Regions from separate parts of the Homo sapiens genome. Here region 1 is linked to region 2. Evidence: promoter capture Hi-C in 16 types of primary human blood cells and fetal thymus (Javierre and others, 2016). All regions are on one chromosome and are shown on one strand. The core of a region is centred on a gene start or on the middle of the fragment in contact, and the rest is flanking DNA. Distances in the headings are between cores, read along the strand shown.

Evidence for each region. Contacts are between HindIII fragments. The CHiCAGO score rates a contact against its expected background, and 5 or more counts as called.
Region 1: a fragment that was not itself captured here is called in contact with the fragment with the promoter of ADORA2A-AS1 in region 2 in 2 of 17 cell types (monocytes and naive CD8 T cells); the score reaches 6.0 in monocytes.

What each region holds. Positions count from the first base shown.
Region 1 is chr22:24,367,628-24,373,810 of GRCh38, forward strand. SPECC1L (sperm antigen with calponin homology and coiled-coil domains 1 like) reads left to right here. Exons shown (of 17, transcript NM_015330.6): 14 at 1,591-1,693. SPECC1L-ADORA2A (SPECC1L-ADORA2A readthrough (NMD candidate)) reads left to right here. Exons shown (of 20, transcript NR_103546.1): 15 at 1,591-1,693. Among named protein-coding and RNA genes, the nearest start is that of ADORA2A, 57 kb to the right of the region's middle. The HindIII fragment of the contact is 8,316 bases long and covers 84-6,183 here.
Region 2 is chr22:24,493,001-24,499,213 of GRCh38, forward strand. It overlaps ADORA2A-AS1 (ADORA2A antisense RNA 1), which reads right to left and starts at 2,074. Exons shown (of 7, transcript NR_028484.3): 1 at 1,690-2,074. UPB1 (beta-ureidopropionase 1) reads left to right here and starts at 2,332. Exons shown (of 10, transcript NM_016327.3): 1 at 2,332-2,507. The coding sequence starts at 2,404. The HindIII fragment of the contact is 15,084 bases long and covers 1-3,015 here.

The DNA.
Region 1 (6,183 bases), core at 2,992-5,491, 120 kb before region 2:
GCACATAGAAAAGTAGTATTTTTCCTTTTGGTTCTTAGAGCAATAAAAATTGGTACTATTTCAAGGCTCCTCTCAATTAGAAAAGCTTCTGTTGTAAATGTGTCCTCTTTGATTTCCTAGCGCACTTTGGAGGGTCAATACTAACAGAATAAATATACTGAGGAATACTAAGCTGCTTGTAACATACGAACCTTTAGGATATTTATTGGGCTGCTAAGTTCACAGAACATGGGACTAGAGTCTCCACTTTGCTATAATCACTGAAAAATAGGCCAGTCTTTTAAGCACAGGCTACTAGTCAAGCTGCCGGTTACATTACACAGCACTCCCTTTCTCTGGGTATTCCTTGGTGTTCTGTTCCACTTCCAGAGTGTGACCAAAAGGGAAGATACGGTGCAGAATGAGTAGAATTGGAAGTCTTCCCTGCCCCTTCACCAGGGGTGATTGCAAAACCTTTTTTGATTAAAGGTCTGGCCTAAGGCAGGATATTTATTTTGACTACAAGGCAGTTGACAATGCCATAAAGTACCCTACATAGAATTTTTAAAAAATGAATCATATGTATAGCCACGGAATTTTAACCCCCCCAAACTTCTACAGTGGTTTTACTTACTATCATATAGTAAACTCTGAAGTTCCTTGGGATAGGGGCCCTGTGTTGTTCACCTTCAATTGCCTACTGCCTGCACATTGCCTGGCACGATGGTGCTCCATAAGGAGATGTTGAATAAGTGAGCTTACAGAGAAATTCCATTTTTGAGCAAGGCAAAATTCTAACTGCCTAAAGTCAAAAAACAGTGTACAACATAGAACTAAATACATCTGAGACATTTCATGGAAGTTACAAATATTGTTCATGTTTATTGCCATCTTTTGTCTGCTTCCCCCCATTGTAGACTTCTTAAAGGCGAGAACTATTATGCCTTAGAATCCTGCACCTTGCATAACCTTACCCTGTATATTTTACAATAAGTAATTTTTTTAAATGATGAGATGGTAAAGGACATAAACGGTTATTTTATTTTATTATTATTATTTGAGACAGTGCCACTCTTGTTGCCCAGGCTGGAGTGCAATGGCGTAATCTCAGCTCACTGCAACCTCCATCTCTAGGGTTCAAGTGATTCTCCTGCCTCAGCCTCCCAAGTAGCTGGGATTACAGACACCCGCCACCATGCCCAGCTAATTTTTATATTTTTATTAGCAATGAGGTGTCACCATGTTGGCCAGGCTGATCTCAAACTCCTGACTTCAGGTGATCTCTCTGCCTCAGGCTCCCAAAGTGTTGGGATTACAGGCGTGAGCCACAGCGCCCGGCACATTTTAATTTTAAATGCACTTTGTACTGTCTTTGCCACTTTCCATGTGGGTGATTTTTATAGAGTCCCTTTCTTCAGTTAGCAAAGAATTCTGACAACAGTGCATCTATGGAGCCATAAACTAAAAATCAAATGTATGAAAAACTATGTCTTGCCTTTGTATTGCCTTACCATGTATATTTCCCCTGTTTAAAAATGCAAACTTTAATACTTTTCTCTTATTCTGGTGCCCAAACAAAAAATATTTCAACTTTGGGTTACTTGTTTTCAGAGAAGAAAGGAAAGACCCTCTCTCAGCATTGGCCAGAGAATATGGAGGATCAAAGAGGAACGCCTTGCTGAAGTGGTGTCAGAAGAAAACAGAAGGCTATCAGGTAATCATATGATTCTTTTGTCCCATGTGAGTAATTGGCAAACCAACTGCTGGAGTGTCGTAGCTTACTACGTGTCACACATTAGAAATGATAAGTCCTGACCTGGCATGGTGGATCACACCTATAATCCTAACACATTGGGAGGCTGAGGCAGATGGATCACTTGTGCCCAGGAGTTCAAGCCTGGGCAACATGGCAAAACCCTGTCTCTACAAAAATAAAAATAATAATAAGCTGGCATGGTGGTGTGTGCCTGGAGTCCCAGCTACTTGAGAGGCTGAGGTGGGAGGATCACTTGAGCCTGGGAGGCAGAGGCTGCTGTGAGCTGATAAAAGAAGAAATGATGAGTCCTATACAAAATGTTAGGAACACATTCTCAAAGTCCAGCCATAACTTGACTATCACTTGGGTGAAATAAGTTTGTTACCTTTCCACAGTACCCAATATTTCCAATATTACTCATCTGTTGTAGCACTTTCTTACTTAAGTCCAGGTTAAATGCTTTTTTTAAGTTACGTTAAATATAACTTTGGAGAGCAGACTCTAATTCTCCATACAAAAGGGAAACCTGTAGAATTCATCCATTCTGCTAAAAAATACAATTTTGATTTCTAGTGTCCTCACATACAGTATTAGTTACAGAGATTCTCCCCAGCTTGCAGCTGGTACTCTTGATTGCATTTCATGCTTTGGCACAAATGCACAGAAGTACAACACAAAAAGGGAATGGAGTTCTATGTTCCTGATCTCTTCACATTAGACTTCATCTCACCAAAATGGCATAAAAGGTGTGGCTACAACATTTGCATACAAATTTCATGCAAAAGAGGTAATAACATTAGTAGAGGAAAAGAAGATCTGCCATTAACAGGTCACTTTTGGATGAATTTGTACATGACTTTAAGTGATGATCCTCAACTCATTTAAGATTAAAGAGCCAAGCATATTGCAGTGGACATACAGAAAAGTCATGATAATCATTGAGGATTTACTAAGACTCTCCATGTCTCAGCTTCAAGCCAGTGGCAAGTAAAAAAGAGAAGAGAAAATAATTTAAAAAAAGAATCTCCATGCCAGCTTCCACTGGCTAACAAAGGAGATAAGTAGTGTTGGCAAAGATGTGGAGAAATGGGCAGGCTTATGTTTTGTTGGAGGGGACCTATAAAATGTTGTAACTGCTGTGGAAAATAGTATGGCAGTTCCTCAAAAAAGTAAACAGAATTACCATATGATCTGGCAGTTCCACTTCTGGAAAATTCCACTTCTAGGAAAGCAGAGACTTGGAGAAATATTTTAGGCACACCCATTTTTGTGGCAGTGTTATTCACAGTAGCCAAAAAGTGGAAGCAACCCAAGTGTCTGTCGATAGAAGAATGGATAAACAACCTGTGGTATATAATACAATGGAATACCATTCTTCCTTAAAAAGGAAGGAAATTCTTACACATGCTACAACACGATGCACACTGAAGACATTGTGCTAAATGAAACAAGCCATATACAAAAGGGCTAATACTACATGATTCTAATTATATGGAATACCTAGAGTTAGTAATATTTATAGAGACAAAAAGTAGAATGATGGTTGCCAGGGGCTGGGGGAGGGAAAAAAGAAAGGGGGTGGGTACACAGTTTAGTTTTACAAAATGAAAAAAGTACTGGAGATGGATGGTGGTGATGGTAGCACAATCATATGAGTATACTTAATGCCACTGAACCGTATAATTAAAGATGGTTAAAATGATTTTTTATGTATATTTACCATGATAATAAAACTCCACTGCAAAAAGAAAAAAAAGAAAGATTGAGATAAGACCAGATAGAAAACCAGCAAGGGAATAGAAGACTTGAATAGTACTGTATACCAACCAGACCTAAAGACATTATACAACACTGCACCCAATAATAGCAGAATACACATTCTTCTCTCAGGTGCACATGGAAGATTGCAGGTTAGGCCATATGTTAGGTCATAAAACTAGTCTCATTAAATTTAAAAAGACTGAAATTGGCCAGATGTGGTGGCTCGTGCCTGTAGTCCCAGTATTTTGTGAGGCCAAGATGAGAGGATCACTTGAGCCCAGTAGTTTGAGACCAGCCTGGGCAGCATCGGGAGGCCCTATCTCTACAAAGATTAAAATGAAATAAATAAAAAGATGGAAAGCATTTAAATTTTCTTCATTTTTTTCTGATCACAATGAAAGATTAGAAATTAGTAGCTGAAGGAAAATTGGAAAATAAGTGAAAATTAAAGCACACACTCTAAATAACCAGTGGGTCAAAAAATTAATCACAAGGGAAATTAGAAAATGCTCTGAGAACAAAAATGAACGCAGCATACCAAAATTTATGGGAGGCAGCGAAAGCAGTTCTCAAGGGGATTGACATTGATTGATTGATTGATTGATTGATCGATTGAGAGACAGAGTCTCATTCTGTCACCCAGGCTGGACTGCAGTGGTGCGACCTTGGTTCACGGCAGGCTCCGGCTCCCGGGCTCAAGTGATTCTTCTGCCTCAGCCTCTCAAGTAGCTGGGATTACAAACGTGTGCTATCATGCCCAGCTAATTTTTGTATTTTAGTAGAGACGAGGTTTCGCCATGTTGGCCAGGCTGGTCTTGAATTCCTTACCTCAGGTAATCTGCCTGCCTCAGCCTCCGAAACTGCTGGGATTACAAGCATGAGCCACCGCGCCCGGTCTCAAAGGGAAATTTATAAACACCCACCTTTACAAAGAGGAAAGATCTCAAAGCAGTAATCTAAGTTTCTTCCTTAAGGAAGTAGACCAATAACAGGCTCTGAAATTGAGGCAATAATTAATAGCTTACCAACCAAAAAAAGTCCAAGACCAGATGGATTCACGGCCGAATTCTACCAGAGGTACAAGGAGGAGCTGGTACCATTCATTCCGAAATTATTCCAATCAATAGAAAAAGAGGGAATACTCCCTAACTCGTTTTATGAGGCCAGCATCATCCTGATACCAAAGCCTGGCAGAGACACAACAAAAAAAGAGAATTTTAGATCAATATCCCTGATGAACATTGATGCAAAAATCCTCAATAAAATACTGGCAAACGAAATCCAGCTGCTGCTGGATCCACCATGATCATGTGGGCTTCATCCCTGGGATGCAAGGCTGGTTCAACATACGCAAATCAATAAATGTAATCCAGCATATAAACAGAACCAGTGACAAAAACCATATGATTATCTCAATAGATGCAGAAAAGGCCTTTGACAAAATTCAACAACACTTCATGCTAAAAACTCTCAATAAATTAGGTATTGATGGGACGTATCTCAAAATAATAAGAGCTATCTATGGCAAACCCACAGCCAATATCATACTGAATGGGTAAAAACTGGAAGCGTTCCCTTTGAAAACTGGCACAAGACAGGGATGCCCTCTCTCACCACTCCTATTCAACATAGTGTTGGAAGTTCTGGCCAGGGCAGTCAGGCAGGAGAAAGAAATAAAGAGTATTCAGTTAGGAAAAGAGGAAGTCAAATTGTCCCTGTTTGCAGATGACATGATTATATATCTAGAAAACTCCATCATCTCAGCCCAGAATCTCCTTAAGCTGATAGGCAACTTCAGCAAAGTCTCAGGATACAAAATCAATGTGCAAAAATCACAAGCATTCTTATACACCAATATCAGACAAACTGAGAGCCAAATCATGAGTGAACTCCCATTCACAATTGCTTCAAAGAGAATAAAATACCTAGGAATGCAACTTATAAGGGACATGAAGGACCTCTTCAAGGAGAACTACAAACCACTGCTCAATGAAATAAAAGAGGATACAAACAAATGGAAGAACGTTCCATGCTCATGGGTAGGAAGAATCAATATCATGAAAATGGCCATACTGCCCAAGGTAATTTATAGATTCAGTGCCATCCCCATCAAGCTACCAATGACTTTCTTCACAGAATTGGAAAAAACTACTTTAAAGTTCATATGGAACCAAAAAAGGCCTGCATTGCCAAGTCAATCCTAAGCCAAAAGAACAAAGCTGGAGGCATCACACTACCTGACTTCAAACTATACTACAAGGCTACAGTAACCAAAACAGCATGGTACTGGTACCAAAATAGAGATATAGACCAATGGAACAGAACAGAGCCCTCAGAAATAATGCTGCATATCTACAACCATCTGATCTTTGACAGACCTGACAAAAACAAGAAATGGGGAAAGGATTCCCTATTTAATAAATGGTGCTGGGAAAACTGGCTAGCCATATGTAGAAAGCTGAAACTGCATCCCTTCCTTACACTTTATGCAAAAATTAATTCAAGATGGATTAAAGACTTAAATGTTAGACCTAAAACCATAAAAACCCTAGAAGAAAACCTAGGCAATACCATTCAGGACATAGGCATGGGCAAGGACTTCATGTTTAAAACACCAAAAGCAATGGCAACAAAAGCGAAAATTGACAAATGGGATCTAATTAAACTAAAGAGCTTCTGCACAGCAA
Region 2 (6,213 bases), core at 824-3,323:
GCTTGAGAAAGGAGGTGAAAGTTCATTCAGTTTGAAGCATTTTGAGTTGGCTTTGAAGCCTCTTCCATGAGACCTCCAACAATTTCTCTAAGCCAGAAATCACCTCTTTGCACTCCATAGTATCTTTTTCATCTCAAATTATTTAAATCTGCTGTATTTACAAGTTTGTCTTTCCTTTTTTTTTTTTTTTTTTTTTTTTTGAGACGGAGTTTTGCTCTTGTTGCCCAGGCTGGAGTACAATGGCACGATCTCAGCTCGCTGCAACCTCCGCCTCCCCTCCTGGGTTCAAGCGATTCTCCTGCCTCAGCCTCCCGAGTAGCTGGGATTACAGGCATGCGCCACCATGCCCGGCAAATTTTTGTATTTTTAGTAGAGACGGGGTTTCACCATGTTGGTCAGGCTGGTCTCGAACTCCTGACCACAGGTGATCTGCCCGCCTCGGCCTCCCAAAGTGCTGGGATTACAGGTGTGAGCCAACGTGCCCAGCCGTCTTTACTTTAAATCACAAAGAAAAGGTACTAGGTCTTATCTGTCTTTATATGGCTCTCTTAGCAGTGCCTTACACATAGAAAGTCCTCAGAGTTTGCACTCTTGAGAAGGCAGCTCCATCAGATACTAGAAACCGTCAGCTAACATTTATCAAAACAAGGAACAAAACTTGTGAATTAGCAGCTGAAACAAAATACCTGAAGTATAATATTTTTAATGTTAGTAGCTGATTCTAGATATAAATTAGCTCCCTTTGTGCTCATTTTACTTGCCTCTTTTTTTTTTTTCTTTGAGATTGCGTCTCACTCTGTTGCCCAGGCTGAAGTGCAGTGTTAAGATCATAGCTAGGGAGCCTCGAACTCCTGGGCTCAAGCGATCCTCTCACCTCTGCCTCCCAAGAAGCAGGTGCGCACCACCATGATAGGCTAATTTGTAAAACATTATTTTGTAGATACAGGGTCTTGCTGTGTTACCCAGGCTGGTCTGGAGTTCCTGGCCTCAAACAATACCCCTTTCTAGGCCTCCCAAAGTGCTGGGTTTACAGGCATGAGCCACCGTGCTGGCCTTTTCTGACTTTTAAACAACCCCGCAGCGTAATCTTTGCATTCCTATTTTACAGATAAAGCAACAGAAGCCTCCAGCGACTAAGTTAAACTTTCCTGGGGTCACAAGGTTTACAAGTGGCTGAATAGGATTTCTACAGACTGGTTCCTTCACCCGGCTGCCCGCCGAAGTAAGCGGGCCTTACTGCCCTAATTCTCAATAGGACCCCAAAGAGGACGCTTCTTTGCTCCTGAAGGGATGGCACCCTCTGGATTCGCGGTAACAGCAAATGGGGCTCTCACTCCTACCATCTCAGTGACAGTTTAAAGCGCACCCTACCGCAGGAAAGTGCCCATATTTGCACACACGCGGCAGAGGGCAGGGCTGAAAAGGGGCCCTAGGGTGCAGGGGGCGCGCCCTCACCCGGGGACCCCGCATTTTACAATATTAGCTCCACCGAGGCGCACGGAACCGCAGGCGAGCAACTGACCTTCGGCTCCAGCGGCCCCAAAGCCGGGGGTGGGAACGCGCGACCCAGGTAGCGGCATGGACTCCGAGCCTGGCCCCTCGGGGGTTAAAACTCCCCAGACATAAAGGCTCCGGACGACAGAGGTGCAGCCGCCGCGTGCCCGTGGGACACTGAAACTCTTCCCTTACCTTCCTCGGTAGTCCTGTGAGGGAGGCTGGCCCGGCCGGCTGCCCTACGGTGCGGACAGGAGGTCGCGGTCGGGAGGGGCCCTGCCCGGCGGTTGCTGCTGGAACCAGCCCCCGCAAGGGCCCGCAGCGGCCGGGCCGTTTACCTCAGACCCGCGCCGCAGCCTCCCGGAGCCCGCGCCCAGGACTCCCTCACGACCTCTCCAGGGTCCCGGCCCGACACCAAGGGGCAGGTGAGGGGTGGAACCTGGAGGCACCCGCGCCAGGGCCCCTGAGGGAGGCGGGAGGGGGACAGCCTCAGTCCTGACTCGCAGCCGAGGCGCGACGACTCCGCGCAGTCCCGCCTGTGGAGGGGCGTGCCTCATCGCTTGCTAACCGAGAGGCGAAGGGCAAGGGGCGAAGGGCAAGCGCCGGATCCTTTCGCCCCCTCCCCACGTGAGGCCCTGGAGGCTGATTGGCCGTGTGCTGCGGAGGCGGCAAGAGGAACGTGTCCTGGCACGTGCCGAAGGAGCGCTAAAGGCCAGGGGCGGTCCCACCCGCGAAGCCCTGGAAGGCGGATTGGCTGCGCGAGGAAGTGGCGTGTCCTCACTTGAGCTGTCTGGGAGCGAGAGTAAGAGATAAAGGCAAGGGCGCCTGACCGGGCCTGGGCACCTCCTCCCACTGCGGGCAAAGGGCAGGCAGTTCGTGCGCGGACACAAGCACTGGCGGACCGTGGCCATGGCGGGCGCTGAGTGGAAGTCGCTGGAGGAATGCTTGGAGAAGCACCTGCCGCTCCCCGACTTGCAGGAAGTGAAGCGCGTTCTCTATGGCAAGGAACTCAGGTCCGCAGCCAAGAGGCTAAGCTAATGGGGTCTTGGGGCCACAGAGTGTGGGTCTGGGGGAGCAGGCAGGGAGGGCCTCAGGGTCTGAAGGGCTCAGGGGAGGCGGTGAGAAGTCCTGAGTTGGCGGGCAGAGACCATAGTAGGTCTTGATGGGACGGCCCCGGGGTCCTTGGGGGTTGCAGAATCCTGGCGTGACCTTTACAAATCTCTTCTCCCCCACGTTGCCCAGAACCGGAAGGAAAAGGACGGGATTTTACTCTCCAGGGCTTTCTCTGTGGCCATCCCAACCCTCCTCCCCGGAGCCGGGCTTGTCTTCTGGATGTCTGGCTGGATCACTGTCTCCAACCAGAGCACCCAGCAGGTGTACTGATTGTCCGGCCCCAGACCATCCTTCTTGCGGTGACCCGACCTCTGGCTGACCCTTGGAAATAGAGGCTGTCTGCATTTAGTTGGCGAGGGAACCTTTCCCACTGGCAAGCCATGGGCGCTGGTTTTTCCACTCCCTGCAAGCTTGTGCATCACCAGGACTTTCTGAGGGCTGTATACTGCTGGACACTGTGTCCACAAAGCTGAAAAAGACACTTCCTGGCCGGGCTCACACCTGTAATCTCAGCACTTTGGGAGGCCAGGGCTGGAAGATTGCTTGAACTCAGGAGTTCGAGACCGGCCTGGGCAACATAGTGAGACACCCATCTCTATAAAGCATTTAAAAAAATAGCCAAGCATGGTAGCATGCATCTGTAGTCCTAGCTACATGGCAGGCTGAGGCGGGAGGATCACTTGAGCTTGGGAGGTCGAGGCTGCAGTGAGCCAAAATCTCTCCTCTGCACTCCAGCCTGGGAGTCAGAGTGAGGCCCTGTCTCAAACACACACACACACACACACACACACACACATACACACACACACACACACACACGTCTTTGGATTTGGAGCTTACTTGGATAATCCCGGATGATCTTATCTTGAGATCCTGACCTTAATTACGTCTGTGAAGACCCTTTTTCCAAATAAAATCACAATGACAGGTTCCAGGTGTCAGGATGGAGACACAGCTCAACCTGCTACAGTAGCTTCAGGGTCTGCAGGTGGAAATAACTCAGGGGCTATTTGCTATGTGGAGGTGGGCCTCAGGTGGGCGAGGCTGGGCTTGTTGAGCTGCCCTGGAGATGGTCATTCCAGGTGAAGGAGGAGCAGGTACAAAAGAGGGCGCTGGAGAGAATGCTGGAAAACCTGGATATTCAAGGGGTCAGAGAAAGAGACTTTGTGGGAGATTCTGGAGGTGAGGACTCTGGGGCAGGACAGGAAAGAAGCATCAGATGGCTCAGAAATGTCTAGCGGGTGAGGACAGCAGGAAGTCTGCTGGATTTAGCCATGATAAGGCTGTTGGCAGTTCCTGAGATGGGGCCAGGAGGTAAGGCCTGAGCTGAGGGGAAGCATGTGTGGAAGCTCCCTAGGCAGCAGGGAGAGACAGCAAGTGAGTAAACACATGGACATATGTGGAACACTGTCCCTCTTTCTCTTTCTTCCTCACCTTCTCTCCCCCCTATCTCCCTTCTGTTTTTCAACGGGAGAGACTCTTTAACAGCTTCAGTGATGGATGTGGAGGTCTGTAGGTACTAGTGGAGAAAGATGTCCAAGCTATGTGTATTAAGTGAAAAAGGCAAGTTGAAGAACAGAAAATACAGAATGATACCATTGTATTTGTAATGCATACACGTAGGAAAATAGGAAAGAGACATAAAACATTGTTAAGAGGGGTTGCCTCTGAGTTTTGGGACTAGGGGTGGGGTAGAAAGGGGAATGTATGTTTCATTTTATACCCTTTCCCACTATTTGATTCACCCCCGCCATGAGCACATGTCTCTTTTGTAACAGAGCTCTAGTTTAATGATTTAAAGTGCTGGTGGTAAAGAGCCATCAGACATGGAAAGATGAAGTTCCAGAAGTGAGAGGTTGCTGAGGAGGCAGGAACTTGGTGTCCTCTGGCAAGGTCTGCCTGACCCTGGGTGGGAGAGGTGGGGGCCCTGAAGGGCATGGTGGGGCTAGGATGGGAAGTGAAGGGCTTTACTCCTTGAAGTTTGAAGGGAAGCCCTGAGTGGGGAGGCCTCAGTAGCAGGGTGAGGGGTAGAGGGTCTGAAAGCCAACTACAGGGACCAGGGCAGGCAGTGGCAGCAGGAGGCCGTCTGTGAGGTTATGGCTCATTTGCTGGTCTTGTCCTCCTGGGCAGTGGCTGATTGATGTTTTAGTACTTTTGGGCTACTATAACAGAATACCAGACTTCCCTGTACTTGTGGGCAATCACAGGGAGAAAAAGGAGAAGGGTCTGTGTGTCTGTTTCCCCAAAGGTCTGTGGGCCTGGTAGCTGGACAGCCCTTTGGGAACGTCCTAGTGAACACTGTCCTCAGCCTGTGGTCTCACACCAGGAAGAAGTCAGGTGGCAGAGCTCTTGTCTGAGTGTGCAACCCTGGCTGTAACCAACATCTGGCTGCGGTCTCTTTCCCCATCTTAAACCACATGAATTTATTCCTCACAGTTCTGAATGCTATGAAGTCCAAGATCAAGGTGCCACAGCAGATCTGGTGTCTGTTGAGGGCCCACTTTCTGGTTTTTGATGGTGCCTTCTCACTGTGTTCTTACATGGTGCAGGAAGCAAGCATGCCCTCTTGGTCTTTTAAAAGGACTCTACCCTCATGACCTAATCACCTCTGAAAGAGCCCTATCACATTGGAGATTAGGATTTCAACATATGAATTTGGGGCAGACATAAGCATTCAGTCTGTCTCAGTGTTCCACTGCATCTCCTGTACCAGGCCTTTCGGTGGGCACAGCACATGGTCATTGACTGCGTCTACACAGGGTATGGCTTGAGGATTGGTTAGGTTCTCCAAGATGAAGCTGTGTAGGATGTGGTAATGCACCGCCTTTGATAATGGGAGGGCAGAGAGGCCTTACAGGTACTGCCCAGATAGTAGACAGGAGTGGCTGGGAGGAGGTAGAGCCCCAAAGGTGGCTGTCCTGGAGGGTGGAGCGGCCTCTCCTGTATTACCTTGGCTTAGAATGAGCTCGCAGGGAGCTGGGGATAAGGAGGTGGGCAGCCTCAGGGCTGGCTAGGCGGAGGCATCACTTGGGGGAAGAAGGGTAGGTAATGGAGGTTGTGCATGGTGGGAAGATGAGGAGAGAGACTTCAGCCAGGTGGTGGTTACAGCCATGTTTCCACACCCAAGACGAGCTCTTCACCTGACATTTTCCTGGTGTGAGACCACAGGCTGAGAGGCCAGGCAGGGTTCACCAGGACACTCTGAAAGAGCTGTCTGGCTCCCAGGCCCACAGGCCTTCGAGGGAATAGACACATAAGCCTTGCTCCTTTTTCTCCTGGTGTCTGCCCACACCCATATCCTGGAAAGCTGCGTGATTTATGTCCACCAGAGGGGATTTGCTCTGAGGCTGTGGCCTGCAGGAGCGCCCTTCCGCTGGAGGGTGGGAGGACTGTCTAAGGCAGTCACAGCAAGGAGAGGCACGGTGTGGGCACTGCTGCTATTTCTAACCTGCTGGAGTGAAGGGAACCTTGACTACTTGAAAAGCAGGCTGATTGTCAGGGGCGGAACCGAACTCAGAGCTGTCAGGGCCGTCACATGGAAAGTGCCTGGCAGGGGGCGGCGACAGGGGGCTTGGGCTGACAGGGCTGTGATTTTGAAAGAAACGT